2 separate regions of the Homo sapiens genome follow, and region 1 is linked to region 2. The links are contacts of gene promoters, found by promoter capture Hi-C in blood cells and fetal thymus (Javierre and others, 2016). All regions are on one chromosome and are shown on one strand. The core of a region is centred on a gene start or on the middle of the fragment in contact, and the rest is flanking DNA. Distances in the headings are between cores, read along the strand shown. Region 1 holds the start of YTHDF1 (YTH N6-methyladenosine RNA binding protein F1). Region 2 holds the start of BHLHE23 (basic helix-loop-helix family member e23).

Region 1 (6,701 bases), core at 1,932-4,431, 210 kb after region 2:
GAAAACAGGGCAGCTATGACTCACTGGGCCCTGCTGTATCAGGTACTGTCTCAGCGCTTTATGTGCACCATCTGATGTCATCCTCCCAACAATTCTACAAACAGTTACTACTCTCTCTCTTCTACAGAAAAGGAAATTGAGGCAAGAGAAGGCAAGCCATGGACACAGGCCAGTCAGTGGTGGAGTTAAAATTGAAACCAGGCTGGGCGCGGTGCCTCACGCCTATAATCCCAGCACTCTGGGAGGCCGAGGCGGGTGGATCACCTGAGGTCAGGAGTTTGAGACCAGCCTGGCCAACATGGTGAAACCCCGTCTCTACTAAAAATACAAAAATTAGCTAGACGTGGTAGTGGGTGCCTGCAATTCCAGCTACTCCCGAGGCTGAGGCAGGAGGAATGCTTGAACCCGGGAGGCAGAGGCTGCAGCAGGCTGAGATCACGCCATTGCGCTCCAGCCTGGGTGGCAAGAGTGAGACGCTGTCTCAAAAAAAGGACTGAAACCCAGGCGGCCTCTGGCTCCACAGTCGCTCCACAGCCCAGCTCTTAGCTGCCTCCCCAGACCACAATTCCAATCATCCAGAGCTAAGAATAACCAGGAAGCTTCAGAAACACACACACACCTCCACTGCGTCAAAGGCAAGACACACCACTGACCCACAAACACTAGAGCCAACTAGACCTGTTTGCATCCCAGCCCCAGTGGGATGCCGCCTCCTCCACAGGGAAAATCATTTTCACCCCACTGATGCCCAAGGTTAACAGGAGTCACATCTTCATGAGCAGTCTATCATTCCTAATACTTTATAGTCTGCTGCTTTGTTGTTTAGGATAATTTAAAAATCAGAAATGACAGTAAAGGTACAAAACAATTAAAACCAACTTAAAAACAAATATATGCTAACAAAATAAACTCACCTGATTTGACTGTCCAGTAAGGTAGGGCTCAAAGTCATTGTCATGAACTGTATCCTTCTGATGTAACGAACCATTTTGTACTAGAACAAAAAGTTGCAAAATATTACCCTCAAATTTTAAAAGATTACTTTTAAGCTTGGAAGGCAAAGTTAGCAAAGTCTATTTCCATCTATTTCTAGCAGAAATTATGCTTTAATTTTAAAAGGAGTACAACCAGTATAGAACTGATGTTTATACAACTAATTAGAAGGGGGACGGGAAACTTTCAATAATTTAGGATAAATTTTAAATAAAGGCTTAATCGTAATTTGGTGAGATTAACCAAATCAAGTGTTAACACATAATGCAAGGAACACATAACCAGGGTGAAAACTGACATGGTCTAAGAAGACTTATGTGTGGCAAAAAGAAGTGGAGCCTCCAAAAGCCCAAATGCAGAATGTATGCCCAAACGTATGGAGAACGGAGGGAAGAAAACTTAGGAGGGAAGGGGCTGCAACTGAAGGACTGTTGGGAGCTATTATCTGACTCTCCACAGTGAACCCCAAATATCTGAGACAGGTCTCAGTTAATTTAGAAAATTTATTTTGCCAAGGTTAAGGACACACCCATGATACAACCTCAGGAGGTCTTGACAACATGTGCCCAAGGTAGTCGGGGGACAGCTTAGTTTTATACATTTTAGGGAGACATGAGAACCATCAATGTAAGATGTACATTGGTTTGGTCCGGAGAGGCGGGACAACTTGAAGCAGGGAGGGGGCTTCCAGGTCATAGGTAGATAAGAGACAAACGGCTGCATTCTTTCGAGTTTCTGATTAGCCTTTCCAAAGGAAGCAATCAGATAAGCATTTATCTCAGTGAGCAGGAATGACTCTGAGTTCTGTCCTTTGTCCACCAGGAATTTCCTTGTGGGCAAACTGTGGGGGAAGTATGTAACTTTTTTTGTCTTAGAAGCTATCTTTTTCAGGAATAGAATGGGAGGCAGGTTTGCCCTCAGCAGTTCTCAGCGTAGCTTTCTCCCTTTGGCTCAGTGATTTGGGTGCCCCAAGACTGGTTTTCCTTTTACACCACTTACCTTCCCACTGTTATTATGCTCAGCCAGAAAAAGCAAGCAAAGGTAAATAAAGTGCTGGGCCTTTTCCAATCTTAAAACACGATGAACCGTATTTGGTTACACCTGAGCTGACACACAAACTGGCTAAAAAAGTGTTCCAAGTAAACGTGAAGTGTCACTTAACAGTTTTCACATGAGTGCGCTCTGAGGGTTTATCCCAAGCCATAATGTCACAGGAGATGCTAACAGACTTGGAAAACGGGCTGCAACTACCGGGGATGTGGAGCTTAGCCTGCAGAACCTTGGACTGCCCCTCTCCTAGAGCAGCCCCTGCTGGGCGGAAAAAGGCAAGTCGCTCAACCCCTGCGGCCATGTCCACCCGGCTCTCCTACCTCCCCTTCCCCAAAGCAAATCCATGATCATGCGGTGGGGAGAGACGGGCCCAAACTACTCTGAGCAATCATTTATTCACTTCTTGAGAAGCCCCTGTCTTCGACCTGTCAAATCTCCCAGAATCGTCGCACAACCTCAAGTTTTATCTCCCTGAAGCTGGCGGAAGAGAGAAAGTTTCCGGTTCCAGACGCAGCTTCCTGGACCGTTCCTTCCCCGTCCTCCTCCACTCCAGCCCGCGCCGGCCGTCCCGGGACTCCGCTCACCTTTATTATCTTGTCCTTTTGTTCTCTGCACCGCCGCAGGCCGGGACGTGGGGTACACACAACCCGGGGGAAGAGGGAAACACAAAGTTATTCACCAGAGAACTGGTCTCCAACGGGCCGCGAGCTCCGCCGGCCCCGACGCGCGGTCACGTGCGACCCCGGCCCCGAGACCCCGGTCCCGCCTGGGCCCGGCCTCCGCGACCCCGGGCTCTGCGTTCCAGCCCCAGGACCTCAACCCAGACCCCGCGCCTCGGCCCCGGCCGCGGCCCCTGTAACCCGGCCCCGCTACCTGGGTGTCCACGCTGGTGGCCGACATGCTTCATGAACAACTAGACGCGGGGCCGGGGCGCCCGCCGGCTCGGGCCTCCCCTAGAGGCCGGGCCTGTCACCCTAGCTCGCGCGGCCCCGGGCCCCGCCGCCAATTCCCCGGGCGCCGGCCGGGCGGCGGCGGCGGCTGCTGGGCGCGCGGGCCCCTGGCGAGGCGGCAGCGGCGGTGAGCCCGGGACGCGGACGCACTGAGGAGGCGTCGACTCCAATGGCGGCGGCGGCGGCGACAGCAGCGGCGACGGCGGCGGCAGGGGACGAGACTGCGCGGCGTCAGCGTGCACGCGGGGCAGGCCGGGAGCGCCGCGCCGGGCCGCCACACTTCGCGCCTGCGCGCTCCCGTCTTACGGGATGGATTTCGCTCTCAGGTCCCAGTCTCGTGCGGCGGGGCGGGGACCGCAGCCGGCTGGGCGGGGAAGCCCTGAGCCGGGGAAGTCACGTGGGGCGTGTCCGGAGGCGCCGCGGGGCCTGGCGGGAAGGGGCTGGCGGGCTGCTGCCAGGTGTACAGCCGCCCACACACACCCCGGCCACAGCCGCACCCCCGACGCGCTACCGGCACTGAGGCCTCTGTAGTTTTCCCCAAGGTCCGAAGACTAAACGCTGTTCTGGTCCGACAGCTGGGCTACGGGTCTGTCCGGGGTCGGTCTGCCCTTCCCCCGCGCGCAAACACCTGCCCGCCCAGAGCTCCGAGCCCCCGCGTGTTCCAGGTCGCGCGCCTCGGCCCTTGCCGCGGGACCTGCGGGCTTTGTTCGCTTTGCGGCCCTGGCCTTCAGCCGCAGCGGAGCCCTGGGCCCGGTCCCGGAGGTCAGCTGTTGTGTGGATGCACCCCTGGACCTGCGAGAGGCTCGCCGGCTTATAACCAAGTTCTCATGTTAGATTCTTGACCCCGATTTCATCACCAGGAGGAAAAGCAGTGCTCTGTGCCCCAGCCTAGGCCGGGCCAGGGGACTTGTCATCTTTGTTCGAGGATGGACAGCCCCTTCTTAGCAGCAACTGTGCAAAGAGAGCCCAGTTCTCAGTTCCTAACCCCTCAGCATCCCCAACCTGGACGCCCTTCTGGTCAAGGTGTTGAATTTCGCTCCCTGCAGCCAGTATCCAATCCTGCCACCCTTGTGGCTAACTCCCTACAGAGGCTTCCAGGTTGATATTTTTCTTTCCAGCTCTGGCAGCTGTAACATCTTCACGTGGCCTGGATCTGGGTCCTGCTAAAGGAGAAAGACCTGGAATGGGGTGTCAGGCAGGTTGACGTCAAATGAGTGTTTTCCACAAAGTGGGCCCGGGCAGATGCGCTAAGCAGGGTGAACAGTGACAGCAGGGACGGCAATGGAGTCCCAAGACGGCTCCAAGCCTGGACATCCGCATCAGTGGGGTAGCAGACAGCCTCTCACACTGCTGCAGGAGGAGGTGGAAACTGCCCCCAGCAGGCCGGTCAGCCACAGAGAGGACTGCTGCTCCAAGTTGCTCCAGGTCTCCCTGGAGCCCTGCCTCGCCTAAAGCTGGGGAAAGCGGGCTGGGCTTGTTTCCCTGGAACAGAGCTGGGGGATGTCTGGTGCCCTGAGGATGAATCTGGATCCCCTGGGACTTTGATGTGTTTGGGCCATGGGCAGACATCTCAGGCCAGGATGAAATCTGTGCATTTGGGGTACATCCGAAAATGAACAGCACGTTTCCAGGATGGTGGCCCACATGGAGAAGATGTGTGGGGATTGTAGGGACAGTGGGGTCCCTGGGGGCACCCTGCCACCTGCTTCTGTGTGATAAGGCCTGCGCATCCTGGGCAGGCCCTGAGTGCCTGCTTCCCAGGACACTGAACTGTTTGGCGGCCAAGACTGCAGCAAGGGGGTGTCTGGGTGGTCAGAGTAGACACTCGGACTCTTGGAGCCCCTGTCTGTCTTCTCACCCAGCTCCCATCCCTGGGCCAGGACGGTGCAGTGGTCACCACTGGAGTTCAGAGCCTCACAGCCAGTTACAGGGCCTTCAGCCTCAGGCCTACTTTCCTCCTCCGTGGTGGGTTAATTACTCCCCTTTCACAGGATGAGTGTGTGGAAGAAACTGGGTATGCAGCCCTTGGCGTCAGGCCAGGGCTCTGTCAACACTGGCTGTTACCTGCTGCCTTCACCCACAAATGCCCAGCCAGTCACAGGAGGCAGCACTGGCCCTGCGGGAAGTGGCCACTCCGAGCTTAGGGGCCTTCTTAGATGGCTGAGTGCCGGCAATGCAGGACCCTGGAGGTGTTTCAGTTTCCTGGAGCTATCTCAACAAAGTACCCGGAACTGGGGGGCTTAAAATAACGGCAATTTATTCTCTCCCAGTTCTGGAGGCCAGAAGTCTCAGATCAGTATTGCTGGGCTGAAGTGGAGACAGAAGCTCCTTCCAGGGCCCTCGGGGAGGATCCTAGCCTCCTCCAGCCTCCGGTGGAGGCCGCAGCCCTTCCTGGTCTTTCCTCCTCGCCTCCGTCACCTCATGGCCTTTTCCTCTGTGCCTGTGTCTCTTCTTATAAGGACACTCATCTGGATTTAGAGCCCACCCTAATCCAGGATAACCTCATCGTCTTGTGATTATATCTGCAAAGAACCTATTTCTAAATAAAGTCACGCAGGTACCAGGTGGACATGAGTTTTGGGGGTACACTCTTCAGCTCACTACAGAGATCACTGGGGAGGCCTCACAGTGATGCCTATGGAGAGATTTTGGAGGGTGACTCCTGGGGCTGAGTAGGTTCTACTCACAAATGTAGATGGAAGGAGAGGCCCCCACAGTGAGGCCTGAGGAGGCACCACCATGCCAGCCTAGCCCCACTGGCCAGGGAAGAGGCTGGCAGGATCCCACAGCCACTGCCCGGACCCACCCAGGCTTTTGCTGTGAACTCCAGAAGGCTCCATGCTGACCCTGACATGGAAGGAGACTGGGGGCTGCCCAGGGGCAGGACAGGTCTGGTTGGCGGGAACAGGGGGCCCTAAAGTGAATTGAATGCAGGGGGTGTGGCACCAGCAGGGGGTGCTGAGGTCCCCAGGCCAGCTCTGGGGGGAAAGCCTTTATCTTGGCCAGGCCTGAGGACCTGGGAGGGTGTCACAGAAAACCAGGAGTTGAGCTGCCTGTAACCTTGGAGGGCCACGTCCACTGCCCAGCCTGCCCAGGTTCACACCCCAGCCCAGCTCTCGGCCAGGAAAAGGGAGGTCACCCAGCACCGAATGTCAGGGGACAACTGTCTCTCCCTCACAGGGAGCAGGCAGCTCCTCATGTCATGGATGGAAACGGATCAGAGGGCTTTGGCCACTCCTCTGGGTGGCCCAGCGGTCTTGAGACAAAGCCTGCCATTTCTAAGCCTGTGCCGTCAATGACAGACAAGAGCCCATCCCCTGTGGGCCGTCTGCCTTCAGACGGGAACCTTCTTGCTCGGGGAACCTGTTGCTCATCCAAGAGCCCTTCCTAGCAGTACCCGCTCCTGGCAGCACCCTCAAGTGGTATGGGATTGTCTAAACATGACTAGCATTAGGAAGGTTTGGGTTTTTATTTATTTGAAAGTCACACAGGCGCATGGTTAAAAAGCTATCTTTGCACTCAAAGGATATAAGGTGGGAAGCAAAAACCACCACCCCCAAACCCCTCAGAGAGGGAGCCCTCCAGATGCCTGCCTGTGCATGCAAGCATGAGTCTCTGTCTCCACTATCTGCCCTTGCATCTCACGTGTTGGGAAACCGCACTTTGGGGATCCACAGTGCTGCTGAGTATCAACACCCGCCGTCCACC
Region 2 (7,159 bases), core at 4,156-6,655:
TGTTAAGGGCTGCCTTGTCTGAGGTACGCTGACCACAGGGCATCCAAACGCGTGGAGATGCAGGAGAAGTGTCTGTCTCTTTAAGAAATGAAAGGCCAGGCACGGTGGCTCACGCCTATAATCCCAGCACTTTGGGAGGCCGAGGTGGGTGGATCATGAGGTCAGGGGTTCGAGACCAGCCTGACCAACATGGTGAAACCCCGTCTCTACTAAAAATACAAAAAAATTAGCTGGGCGTGGTGGCGGGCGCCTGTAATCTCAGCTACTCAGGATGCTGAGGCAGGAGAATTGCTTGAACCTGGGAGGTGGAGGTTGCAGTGAGCCGAGATCGCGCCACTGCACTCCAGCCTGGGCGATAGAGCAAGACTCTGTCTCAAAAAAAAAAAAAAAAGAAAAGAAAAAAGAAAAAAGGAGAGGCCTTGTGAACCCCACATTTGTTTTCTAACCTGCTGGGCCCTCTATTTTTACCCAGCAAGCTGGAGAGTCCCTGGGGAGCAAGGAAGCAGGCATGGCCATCAGTGCATGAAGACAAGAGTGGGACCTAGGTCAGGCAACCTGCATCTCCTGACCGCACGAGGGACCCTTACAGAGCCACTGGGCTCGGAGAAGCCTGCCCCAAGCTCCCACAAACTAAGCTTCACAAAACTCGTTTCCAAAGAGAGGCCAAGCCATCAAGAGAATGGGTCTTGGCCAGACGTGGTGGTTCACGCCTGTAATCCCAGCACTTTGGGAGGCTGAGGCAAGTGGATCACTCAGGAGTTCAAGACCAGCCTGGGCAACATAGGAAAACACCGTCTCTACGAAAAACAAATTAGCTGAGCGTGGTGGCGCTCGTCTATAATCTCAGTTACTCAGGAGGCTGAGGCAGAAGAACAGCTTGAACCCAGGAGGCAGAAGTTGCAGCGAGCAGATATCGCACCACTGCACTTCAGCCTGGGCAACGGAGTGAGACTCCGTCTCAAAAAAAAAAAAAAAAAGAACAGGTCTTGATCTGTGAGTCGCTCAAGCAGCAGCCAGCAGGGCCCACACCTTTACTCTGTGGCCTTGTAATCCGCTTTCTCCCGTTTCCTAGGCTTGGGTGTGGTTGGCGCGTGTGAGGCTGGAGGGGCATGTGGACCCAGTGACTCAGTGGGCACAGCCTCTGCCTTTCCTGCTGCCGGCCCAGGCCCCAGCCACAGCCCCAGCCCCAGCCCGCACTCCGGAGAAAGGCTCGATGAATCAGGATTGGAAAAGAAACAAGGATGGGACATTTCCTATTTGCCCAGCTCTAGAATGGACTCCTTAAGTCCATAGGCATTTCCTGGTTATTATTAAACAAAGAGAAAGAAGCAAGGAGTACTTTGCGTGCTTGGTGTTTTCACGGCCGAGAGCTGCAAAACCCGAGGCTGCCAAACCACGCGTGGCCACTGAGCACTGAAACGCATTGGAACATGGCTGGTATGAACTGAGCTGGGCTTTAAACACATGCTGGAACTTGAAGACTTAGTGCCAGGAAAGTAAAATATCGAATAACTTTAAATATGGATGACACACTGAAATGATATTTTGGATGTATTGGGATAAGTATTAAGTTATCAATAAAAATAATTTCATCTGCTTCTATTTCCTTTTTTAATATGGCCACTTGAAAATGTAAAATTCTACACATGACCACGTTCTCTCCCTACAGCAACACTGGTCACGGGGTGGTGTGAACACCTCGGTTCTGGGGACGCTGCCTCCCACCTCCCACAGCCTGCACATCTCTACCTAGAAGGAATCTAAAGGTGAGCATCTTAGCCAGACGTGGTGGCTCAGCCTATAATCCCAGCACTTGGGAGGCCGAGGCAGGCAGATCACTTGAGGTTAGGAGTTCAAGACCAGCCTGGCCAACATGATGAAGCCCCATCTCTACAAAAAAATACAAAAATTAGCCAGGCGTGGTGGCGCACATCTGTAGTCCCACCTACTAGGGAGGCTGAGGCAGAAGAATCGCTTAAATCCGGAAGGCAGAGGCTGCAGTGAGCCAAGCCAAGATGGTGCCACTGCACTCCAGCCTCCGTGATGGAGCGAGACTCTGTCTTAAAAAACAAAACAAAACAAAACAACACAGTGAGCGTCTTGAAAAGCTCAGCTGGAAGCAAAGCTCTTTCGTGTTTGGTTCCTCCCTGAGTGTTGGGGGAAGGGTGGCTCCTGGTGGGTGGTGACGGTGAAGTTCTTTCCCGGTGATCCCCAGCCATTCTCAACACACCTGCAGGAGCACAGCCGTCAGAGAAAAGACGAGCAGCCCCCCACGTTTCTCGGGAGCCACGGGCTTGCACAGGCACCCACGTGGGTTCTGCTTTGCTGTTTGCCAGATGTGGGCACACAGGCCGTGGAGGGCTGTCTTGGAATGAGAAGATCCTTGGGCAAATCTGAGAAAGGCCAGATGACACTGTGATTGCCCAGGTGGCTTCGCGAGCAGCCACTGCAGAGAAGGCGAGCTAATTCTCCGAAACACTCCACTCCACTCAGGCCAAGTGAGAAGCATGCAGACGTTTGTAGAACAGTAGACACACAGCTTTGTCATGTACAAAAAAGTTTAAATGTAACTTGAATTTTTATTTAAATTAAGTAATCGGAAGAATTTTTGATTAGTGAAGTGGTTTTTTCAAAAACTTATTCTCCACCCAAAGAGAGAAAGAGAGATTTTTTTCCTCTGCCCTTTTCCTTATGATTTCACACATGTGCTATAATAAGTGGTTGCTTTTAGATGAGTTTTAGCATCTCAGAGACTCTTCAGACTCTGGTTTCGAGTGGACACAAGTATCTGAAAATTGAAATTATTGTGAATTCAGCTACAAATGAACACTATTTCACTTGATATTAAAATTTAACCATATTATTTTTATAAAATAAATGGCAATAAAATGCTTTATTCTGAATATAAATGATGTACCAATGTCTCTGATTTTAACCAGAATAAACACCCCTGTTTCAAATTCTGATAAGCAGGTAATTTATTTAAGATCACGTTGAAATGACCCTAGAAGTGAAGGGCATTTGAGTTTCCAGCTTTCCCACTTTATCTAAAAGGGGAAAAACGGTGTCTGGCACTCAGCTTTTCGAATGTGCAAAACTGATAAACTAGTCTGTTAGGGGAAAAAAAAAAGACAATGAAGAAATAAAAGTGGAAATTAGCAGAAACCAGTATTAGGCATATGTCTTTATGAATAAGACTTAACCATACACTTGATTTTGCAAGTACAGAAGGCCCTGTGGAATGTATTAATCAGAGTTAAACGCTGTAGACAGGCGCGTTGCAGGGCGGCGGCCCTCTCCCCTTGGCATTACCGACAGCCGAGGAAATTGGGTTAATAAAGCCGGATACTGCGGCGGGGCCGCGGGGCGCAAACCGGCGCGGACAGATGGGTCCCCGGGGGCACCCTGCCCGGCTCCCTGGATCCCGGATGGTGGCAGAGCTGGGAGCTGCGCAGGACGGGCACTGCGCAGCGCATCTCCGTTCACACCCGGCGGGGCACGGGGCCCGCAGCAGCTTACTCACCCGTAGCCCGGCCTCCTCCCTCGGAAGGGAGAGGGGATCGGTGGGGAGGGGGTTTGCTGGACACCAGGGCTAGACGGGGCCCTCCCCTGACCGTCAGGGTTAAGTAGGGCGCGGGCTGTGAGGACCCTCCTCCACGCAGCCCCCCGAGGCAGAGGGCCCGCAAAGCGGTCTCCATCCAACTCCACCCCGCGGACGTCCCAGGCAGCGGATGGCGGCGGGGGGGGGAGGCCAGGGGACATTTAGGGGACAAATTCCTCAGACTTCGAGGCAGCCGGCGACGGCGTCCAATTCCCAAATAAATAGAACAAACTCCTACTTGGAAAAGGCCTTCCCCGGGGTCTTCCTGCGCCCGCGGTCCAGCTCCTCTGCAGACGGCCATCGTGGGCTCTCCGCAGGGCTGCGGAGTCTCGGAGTCACCGAGGTGGGAGGTGCCGGCCACGCGCGTCCTCAGGAACAGAGCACTGCCCTGCAGTTTAGCACGAAGGGCCGGCTGGAGCGGGAGCGCGAGGCCCACTGCAAGAGGATCAGGAGCCAGTAAGTCCGGCTTTTCTTCGTCTCCACCTTTCGTGCGCCCGGGGCCAGGACCGCCTGTCCGGAATCTGACCAGTGCCCGTCCTCGCCGTGGCCCTGGGACCCCGCGGTGGTCTTCTTTTGGGGACGAACGGCAGTGCCCGAAGGATGCTCTACCCACCCCCGTTCCTAGACTTGCTGGGTCCCGACAATACCCAGTGGGTGCCGCGAGTTCCCGGGCGCAGAGTCCAGCGTCCGGCTCTCGAGCTCAATCCCGCGCCCCGACGGCCTTGGCGCTTCCCGCTGCGCTAAACTGTCCACCGCGCACAGGCTGGAAGCGAAGTCGGGCCCCCTCCTCCTGGTCTGCAGGGTCCCTCCAGGCCTTTCCTGTCCGGGCAGAGAGACAGTCACAGGGGCGATCGGAGGACGCGTGCGGGAGGGCCGGGGGCCCGCGCGGTCACGGCTTCTCGTGACAGTGTTTGCAAAGCGCGGAGGGCGTCCCGGAGAAGGCGGCGCACTTGTCAGGGCAGGGCCCCAGGGCGGCGCCTGCGGAGAAGGGGCACACAGTGGCCTGGCCGAAGGGCGTCAAGGGCGCGGCGTTTACGGGCGCGGCCAGGCCCTGGCCCTGGTTGAGGAAGGCCACCAGGCGCCGCATCTCGTCCAGGGCCTGCGCCTGCATGAGGATATAGTTCTTGGCGAGCAGCAGCGTGGCGATCTTGGAGAGCTTGCGCACCGACGGGCTGTGCGCGTAGGGGATGACGGCTCGCAGCCCGTCCAGCGCGTCGTTTAGGTCGTGCATGCGCCGCCGCTCGCGCGCGTTGATGCTGAGCCGCAGAGACCGCTGCTCTCGCGGCCGCCGCCGCCCGTCCGCCGCGCTCCCTGGCCCGCGCCGCCGCCGCCGCTGCTCGAAGGCGTCGTCCTCGTCCCCGCTCTGTTCGCCGCTGCTCTCCGCCGCCTGAGCTGGGGCGCGAGGTGCAGGCGCCGCGGGGAGGTCGCCGCCCGGGCCCGGAGTGCCGTAGCCGCGGGCCGCTTCGGGTTCTCGCGCCGCCCCGTAGGCGAGACCCGCAGCCGCCGCCGCGTAGCCGTGGCTTAGTGCCAGGTACGCGTCCCCCGACAGCGACTTGAGCTCGGCCATGGCCGCGCCGCCTGGGCTCGGGGGCTCGCCGGGTGGGCGGATGCTCATGTGGGTGAGCAGCCCCCGAGGCCGGCCCGAGCCCGCCGCTGCCGCTGCCGCTGCGATGAGGCTCCCGGCTCTGCGCGTCGGTCTGGCTTGCCTGCGGGTCCCAGAGCCTCGGCGCCCGCTGCCTCCTCCGCCTCTTCCTTCTCTCCCACCTCCTCTCCCTCCCAGCCGCGACGCGCAGGGGGCGGGCTCTACCTCCCCCTCGCCCCCGCTTCGGTTTTAAGCCGCGGAGGCGCCCGGTGGGACCTCGCTGCTGTCCAATCAGGGGGGACCGGGTGAGCTCCTCTTCCTGGAGCCGGGCTCCACCAGCGCCGCAGGCTCACAGGCCGGGGGTGGGGGCTCTGGACCGAGGGGCGGCGCGGGGCGGCGCGGGGCGGCGCGCGCGGTCCTGGAGCGCTAGTACTTGCTTCTCGACTCCCCGGCCGCCGCCTCCGGCCGCCCCGGGGATTCCGCCACCAAACGCACGCGTCCCAGGTGGGCACCCGCCTCGGTCCGTCTTTGAGTCTGACCCTAGCGCAAGAGTCCCTGGCGACACGCAGGGGCCAGAGCGGGGGGGCGCGCCGCAATAGCAGCAGCGCCAGCGCCAACACCCTGTCCCGCTGAGGGGCCGCTTCGGGTCGGGGTCAGGGTCGTGGGCGCTCTGGTGCAGCCGCGGCGCAGCGTGTACCCGGAGCCCGCACACTCCCTGCTCGGGGCGCCCTGTGGCCAGGCTTGAGGGGCAGAGTGAGAGGGAGTTTCTAGAACCTGTTGAAAAACGCCACGAGCGTTGCAGGCCGGGGAGGGCGGGAAGGTGGAGGGCAGCGCGGCCTGGGGCTCCCCGGGGGTGGGAGGGGAGCTCTGTGAGCTGCAGGACCGCCTCTTCCCTGCCAGCCGCTTCCTGGGCATCTATCAGCGAAACGCGTGAGGCTTGGTGGGCTTTCCCGGAGCCTCCGAACCCCTGGGGTCCAGCCACACTGGATGGGAATGTGGCCAGCCTCGGACTCGCCTTTTCAGTCCTCTTCCAACCCCGCATGAAGGCCAGAACCCCAGCCCTTCTCCCAGGTGGGAACCTGCCTGGAGGCCCGGCCGAGTGCTGAGGCTAGAGTGTGCTGAGGGATAGTGGCTTCTCCGGTCCTGGCTTGGGTGGGAGACTGGGCCACCCTGGCCTATGGCACGAGGTGGAGCGGCCCGTCGGGCCCTTCTGTGTGACCTGGGAAGGGCCGCATACCCTCCCTGTTCTCCAGGCTCCGCCCCAGGAGGAGCCACAGCGATGGGGCAGTGTGCGCAGCCCCGGGAGGGGAGTGGGAGCTGCACGTGTGTGGGGCGGATGTGCTGTCTGGAAGGTTCTGGGAACGCAGCAGTGACCGGCCTGTCCGGTGGTTCCCTGCCAGGTGCGGGGTGTGAGGAGACAGATGCATGGATAAGTCTCCGTGGGAAACTCAGGCCTTTGTCCTGGCGGAGGGGAATGGGTCTGAGGCAGCCTCTGCCGGGCTGGCGGCCTGTCTGGCTGCGCGTCCTGCAGCACCGGCCTCACCCCCAGCACACGCCCGCCAGGAGCGCAGGGGCCCCGAGGATGGAAGCGTCTGTCTGAGGCGCTGTCCTGGGACCCCACCCCGCCTTCGGGGCTGATGCACAGACCGGGAATTGAGGATACCTGGTGTGGAGGAGGCCGCTGTGTTTGGGCCTGGGTCTGAAGGGTGAGTGGGTGTCATTGTGGCCACGGGCCGGGGTCGGGGGAGCATTCAGGTGGCCGGAGGAGGCCTGGCACAGGGAAGGGCAGTGAGGGGCCCGGGTGGGGCCAGGAGATAGAGGGGCGGGACCAGGCCTGTGGGACAGTTTGAATCACGCGGGGAGTTTGGTCTTTATGGGAAGAAAGGCGCCGTGGCCATTCGGAGAGCCACTCTGGCACTGCTGCCGGTGCGGTCCGGGGCTGCGGGGCCTCCTCCTGGGCCTGAACTGCAGGGCTG

Evidence for each region. The method cuts DNA at HindIII sites, captures the fragments that hold promoters and counts their contacts. A CHiCAGO score of 5 or more calls a contact.
Region 1: a contact is called between the fragment with the promoter of YTHDF1 here and the fragment with the promoter of BHLHE23 in region 2, in 9 of 17 cell types (activated CD4 T cells, fetal thymus, endothelial precursors and 6 more). The highest score is 8.0, in activated CD4 T cells.

Annotation. Positions count from the first base shown.
Region 1 is chr20:63,212,950-63,219,650 of GRCh38, forward strand. YTHDF1 (YTH N6-methyladenosine RNA binding protein F1) reads right to left here and starts at 3,182. Exons shown (of 5, transcript NM_017798.4): 1 at 2,917-3,182; 2 at 2,628-2,652; 3 at 915-994. The coding sequence starts at 2,943. RefSeq lists silencers at 3,055-3,124, 3,255-3,534. The HindIII fragment of the contact is 6,581 bases long and covers 1,048-6,701 here.
Region 2 is chr20:63,001,559-63,008,717 of GRCh38, forward strand. BHLHE23 (basic helix-loop-helix family member e23) reads right to left here and starts at 5,406. Exons shown (of 1, transcript NM_080606.4): 1 at 4,369-5,406. The coding sequence starts at 5,216. The coding sequence ends at 4,491. RefSeq lists enhancers at 2,287-2,800, 5,125-5,830, 5,831-6,538. The HindIII fragment of the contact is 10,733 bases long and covers 634-7,159 here.